Regions from separate parts of the Homo sapiens genome. Here region 1 is linked to region 2. Evidence: promoter capture Hi-C in human tissues and cell types (Jung and others, 2019). All regions are on one chromosome and are shown on one strand. Each heading gives the region's core, a stretch centred on a gene start or on the middle of the fragment in contact. The rest is flanking DNA. Distances are from core to core; before and after follow the strand shown. Region 1 has its middle 46 kb from the start of EMCN. Region 2 holds the start of DDIT4L (DNA damage inducible transcript 4 like).

Region 1 (3,213 bases), core at 259-2,758, 370 kb after region 2:
TAAATCGGTAAGGAGGAAGTCAAACTATCACTGTTTGCTAACAATATGATTGTTTACCTTGAAAACCCTAAGGACTCCTCCAGAAAGCTCCTAGAACTGATAAAAGAATTCAGCAAAGTTTCCAGATTAATGTACACAAATCAGTAGTTCTTCTATACACCAGCAGCGACTAAACAAAGAATCAAATCAAGAACTCAACTCCTTTTACAATAGCTGCAAAAATAAAAATAAAAATAAAAATACTTAGGAATATACCTAACAAAGGAGTTGAAAGACCTCTGCAAGGAAAAGTAGAAAACACTGCTGAAAGAAATCATAGACAACACAAACAAATGGAAACACATCCCATGCTCATGGATGGGTAGAATCAATATTGTAAAAATAACCAACTGCCAAAAGCAATCTATAAATTCAACACAATCCCCATCAGAATACCATCACCATTCTTCATGGAATTAGAAAAAACAATTCTAAAATTCATATGAAACCAAAAAAAAGCCCACATAGCCAAATCAAGAACAAATCTGGAGGCATCACACGACCTAATTTCAAACTATACTATAAGGCCATAGTCACTGAAACAGCATGTTACTGGTATAAAAGTAGGCATGCAGACAATGGAACAAAATAGGGAACCCAGAAATAAACCCTAATACTTATAGCCAATGAATCTTCAACAAAGCAAACAAAAACATAAAATGGGGAGTGGACACCCTTTTCAACAAAAGGTGAATTGGCTAACCACATGTAGGAGAATGAACTGGATCCCCATCTCTCACCTTATACAAAAATAAACTCAAGATGGATTAAGGACTTAAACCTAAGACCTGAAACTATAAAAATTCTAGAAGATAACATTGGAAAAACCATTCTAGACATTGGCTTAGGCAAGAATTTCATGACCAAGAACCCAAAACCAAATGCAATTAAAAAAAATAAATAAATAGCTGGGATGTAAACTAAAGAGCTTTTGCATGGCAAAATGAACAGTCAGCAGAGTAAACAGACAACCCACAGAGTGGGAGAAAATCTTCACAATCTATACTTCTGACAAATGACTAATATCCAGAATCTCTACAATGAACTCAAACAAATCAGTAAGATAAAAAGACATAATCCTGTAAAAAAGTGGGCTAAGGACATGAATAGACAATTTTTAAAAGAAGATATACAAGTGGCCAACAAACATATGAAAAAATGCTCAACATCACTAATGACCAGGAAATGCAAATCAAATCAACAATGTGATACCACCTTACTCCTGCAAGAATGGCCATAATCAAAAAAATCAAAAACAGTACACATTGTCTTGGACACGGTGATCAGGGAACACTTCTACACTGCTGGTGGGAATGTGAACTAGTACAGCCACTATGGAAAACAGTGTGGAGATTCCTTAAAGAACTAAAAGTAGAACTACAGTTAGATCCAGCAACCTCACTACTGGGTATCTACCCAGAGGAAAATAAGTCATTATTCGAAAAAGATACTTGCACATGCATGTATATAGCAGCACAATTCACAATTGCAGAATCGTGGAACCAACCCAAATGCCCATCAATCAACGAGTAGATAAAGAAACTCTGAGTATATATGGTAGAATACTACACAGCCATAAAAAGGAATGAATTAACAGCATTTGCAGTGACCTGGATGAGATTGGAGAACATTATTCTAAGTGAAATAAGTCAGGAATGGAAAACCAAACATCATATGTTCTTACTGATATGTGGGAACTAACCTATGAGGACGCAAAGGCATAAGAATGATACAATGGACTTTGGGGACTCGGAGGAAAGAGTGGGAGGGGGGCAAGGGATAAAAGACTATAAATATGGTGCAGTGTATACATGGATGATGGGTGCACCAAAATCTCTATCAGCACTAAAGAACTTACTCATGTAACCAAATACCACCTGTACCCCAATAACTTATGGAAAAATAAAAAAATAAAAGATTTCTGAGCTAAGATTTTTAAAAATACCTTCTATTTGAAAGGGAAAAGAAGAAGAAATGATACATACGATGGATTATGTGGATGGTAGCAAAAAATACAGAAAGTGAGAGAACTACTTAGCTCACAAAATAGTAGTTTATGGTAGTAGAAATATGGGATTCTGCTGTAGCAGAGACTGCCCAGTATTTTCATTAATATCCAGGTTTTATTTGTCTTGGCACACTGCTAAATTACAACAGACCCCCCTTTCATTTGGGACCTTGTGATGCATTCTCTCCAATGGAATATGAGAATTAATATGTGTCTGGGCTGATATGATTAAAAGCAGAGCTTCGAAAGCTCTTTCTTTTCACTTGTCTATTGACCTGGCATATTCACCTGTCTATTGACCTCAACTGGATGATCCAGTTGAGGACTCCAAGGCCCTTAGGAATGGAGAGTCCTCTTGATCCAAGTAGCCTGGATCCCTGAATGATTGCAGGAAATAGAGATCTCTGTCTGCTGACTTTGTGCTATGAAAAGAAAATAAACTTTTATCATGTTTAGCCACTGATATTGTTACTACAGTCTGTCTACTCTGACGTGTCTTCCAGTAGATGGTGTATGCTTTATTCTTACAACAGCAACAACAAAAACACCTAAGCTAATCACTGTTTTAAGCTGAATTTTTAATTCCAGAAAGATAATGCACTGAAAAAAACTGGGTCCAGTGAGTTATAAGAAGTATGGCAGAACAGTGTTAAAAATGGTCCCCACTAATTTTCAGGATAAAATAATAGTAAGAAAAACCATGAGTAACATTTGTTTTATGAGATGTTTGTCCATCAAGGTAAGGGTGTCCAACATGATGAACTTGACATTATAGTAGAAGGAGGTGTACAATGTCTCATGTATTACTGAGACTTTGTAGATAGAGCTCTTGGCTACACTATGACAATGCAATAGAAATCTTTATTTAAAGAACTGAGCTGATTAGAAAGGGTGGCAAAATTGTGTGTGCAAGACAGTACTCTCCTGCTTTTACCATTCTTGCTCATCAATAGTTGTCAATATTCTAGACTTGAGGGGTCACTTCTGTCCATCTGACTTCAAATATCATCCTACAGTCTGAGCTAATACTTCTGTATTTTCTGCACCAGACTGGACTCAAGCTTAGTTTTGATAAAAAGAAAATTATATAATGGACTCTGGTCATCTCAACTCTACTCCAGGGCCACCCTAAAATGTGGGTGGATCACCCTATAGCATTGTCACTT
Region 2 (3,026 bases), core at 60-2,559:
CGAAGAGCTTAAGCAGTTTATCTATGCTCTTACAGCTCTTTAGTGTCAGAGCAGTGTGTTCACCTAGAAACTGCTGTTAAAATTCCAAATGACAGCAAGTCAAGCACCGCTGCTGTTCAACAGTTTCCTTCTCACATTAAAAATGGAATAATGGATATATCCACGACTGAAAATCCTACTCAGTAATAAACAATAAACACGAACACACTGATTTAAGCAACGGACATAAAAGAATCTCAAAAACATTAGGCTGCGGGAAAGAAACCAGACACAAAAGAATACCTACTGTATGGTTCCACTTACCTAAAGGCAAAACTAACTTGGAATGATAAAAATCAGATCAGTAGTTCCCTGGAGTCAGGGGAGAGTGAGGAATACCTGGCAAATAGGTGCGTCGGAATTCAGGGGGAGGGGCGATATTGATTACAGGGTAAATACATTTGCTAAAACACACATAACTGTGTTCTTCACAATCATGTAAGATAAGGAACTTAATCCCAAGGGGCCTACTGGCACCAGACTAGAAAGATGCAGCCCTCGGGTATTCTACTTTTGCTACTTTTGTTTCTATCATGGAGAGAAGATGTTAGAAAATTTGGAAAGGAGTCTCCTCAGATGGATTTTGTGGCACCTCCTACATAGAGGTAGGGGAGGAAGTCGAAAGCCCGCCCACCCAATAGATCCAGAGGCACCGACCTTGGGAGGGGAGAAGGGTGGACAGCGGGGACACTCACCACTTAGCAGGCTCTCTGGGTGATAGCCACAGTCCAGCAATTCTGAAATGCTGGCCGGGTTCTTGCTGCTCAAACTGCCAGTTGCAACCATGGTCAACGGCTCTGTTTCCTTCGCGAGGCGCAACGGCCTTTCCTGAGCGCTGGAAAAAATGAGGCGAGAAGAGACGGATTTGCAAAAGCAGGCGAGTCGTGCAGAGGCTCCTAAAATGCCCGGCGTCCCGGGAGCGAACTAGCGGAGGAACTCCTTTGCCAAAGGGGTGGAACCGGCCTCTGCAACTCAATTTGACAAAGCCCTGGGAGCGGAGCCGCAACCTGAAACTAACTCAACAGTTCGCAAAACTTGGAAGCGACCTGCCCCGCGGAGCGCCCCCCGGCCCCGCTGCCCCCACCAAGGCCGCAGCTTCGCTCACCTGCCAGGAGTTCGCGGGGGCCTGCGCGCTCGCTGCCGGGTAAACACAGGCAGGTGGCTTCTTAGGAGTCCCCTCTCCTGGGGACTCGGTGACCTGCAGACCCCAGCAGCCAGCGGCACCCTGCTCACCCCTCCCGGGCCACCCTGCGCCGGCTCCTCGCAGTAGCATAGCCTCCGGGGCAGCGAGAACTTTATAGGTCCAGTCCCCACCCTGCTCAGGCCCGCCCACCTGCACCGCCCCTCCCCGGCCAGCGCCCCGCCCCTCCCCTCCAGAGTCTGGTCCCCTTTCAACCTCTACACTTCCAGGGAGCCCGAGCCTAGCCACAGGGAGTTGAGGATAAGCCTGTGGTAGAGCGGACACCTGTTGCTTCCAGGGTAGATCTCGGGCCACTGGGACCGCAATTCCGGGTGCACGACTCGTCAAAGCCTGAACCTGATTGTTCAGTGCGACCCCTCCCCGAGCGTCCGCGCTTTCACACTCAGGCTGCTCCCGGCAGCGGGAAGCTTTAAGCGATCTGTGCATTTCCTTGTCCTGGGGCTTTGCTGTGTCATCCTGAACACTTGGCTTAAATCTGTTGCAACGTCCACTGAGCATCATTTATGCACTTATTTCTGGCCTCTAACCCAGTCAACTCTACTCTGCCTCCCAGGGTTTCTGTATCCTCCTCTGCTGCAAGCGGTCAGATCTAGTTTTCCTTTCCCGCATCGAAGGCTCGCCAGCATTTTAAGAAGGGCCTTAATGACCCCACGCACTCCGTGGCTCCCTGGCATTCTTCGTGCACTTACATCTGTGGCTAATGCGTTTTCTTCGCAGGAAGGGTGAGCCTGGCACTCTTCTAATTAGACCTTGCCCCAGAGCGCGGGGAGCTTGAATTGAGCGGGAGTTTGCCAAGAAACACACAATACCATTAGTAGGATCTTAGGTACTCCTCTATCCGTGCATCGAGAGCAACTGTCATTTCCGGAGGCAGAAGTTTCTGGCGAGCCCTGTTGGGAGGATCTTTGGTTTGGGATATTTTGAAGAGGTTTCAGAGACTGAAGATAAAGAGTTTTATATTCTGCTGGGGATCAGCAGATAATCCCTGTGAGGGCTCCGTGCGGTCCTGCACAGGAACACACAGAGAGGCAGAGGAGCCCTGGAAAGAGGCAACATGCCCGCATAGCCCATGAGCAAGAAGCCAAACCTGATTTTTTTCTTCCAAAGTTATTAAGCCACGGTTTTCTCGCTTTGGTGTGCCAGTAGGAGATGATCTGTTCAGAGAGTCAGCTTGGGGTGCGTTAGGGGATGCCTGGAGGGAGAAGGTTGTTCCTACAGTAGAGATCCCAGTGTTGGCTCCCAGGCCCTCTAGGATTATGTGTAGAAGGATTTGCAGGTTAGAACCTTGAAAGGCAGTTTCAGCTGTCCTGGCATAAAACTCTTAGAAAAACAACAACAGAAGGGGTATAGAGGGTGTGATAAACAGATCAGTGGGAGGACATTCGGACGCAGAGCAGCAGAAATTAAAGCCAGCTTGACAGTCCATTTTTAACTCAGTTCAGGCAGCTGCACTGCCTGAAGGTCAGGCGAGCCAAGGAAGGAGATGCTGATAGACTGGTCTTTGAAGGCCAGTTTCCACTTCTACTTCAATAAACAGAAAAGTGGAAAATAAACAAGCCCATTTAAGCCAATTAAAAAGCGGTTTCAGTGGCTAGGGTGTTCAGGACCAATGGATGGGCCCATGGTCAGGAGTTGGATGCCAGCCGCCTGACAGTCAGTCCCTGGGCAGGCCACAGAGCCTCTTGTCCTTGTCTGGGCAGCATTACTAATGAGGCTGCCACTTAACCTGCCTCCAAGGAGGATTTTTAGAATTAATATAATGAGTGGTCTGAACCAATACTAGCGA

Evidence for each region. The method cuts DNA at HindIII sites, captures the fragments that hold promoters and counts their contacts. A contact is called where the count stands out against the background at its distance.
Region 1: a fragment that was not itself captured here is called in contact with the fragment with the promoter of DDIT4L in region 2 in 1 of the 25 tissues and cell types used here (hippocampus).

Annotation. Positions count from the first base shown.
Region 1 is chr4:100,562,432-100,565,644 of GRCh38, forward strand. No RefSeq gene overlaps it. Among named protein-coding and RNA genes, the nearest start is that of EMCN, 46 kb to the left of the region's middle. The HindIII fragment of the contact is 4,523 bases long and covers 1-3,213 here.
Region 2 is chr4:100,189,159-100,192,184 of GRCh38, forward strand. DDIT4L (DNA damage inducible transcript 4 like) reads right to left here and starts at 1,310. Exons shown (of 3, transcript NM_145244.4): 1 at 1,145-1,310; 2 at 735-874. The coding sequence starts at 825. It overlaps DDIT4L-AS1 (DDIT4L antisense RNA 1), which reads left to right and starts at 875. Exons shown (of 5, transcript NR_125924.1): 1 at 875-916. The HindIII fragment of the contact is 5,141 bases long and covers 1-3,026 here.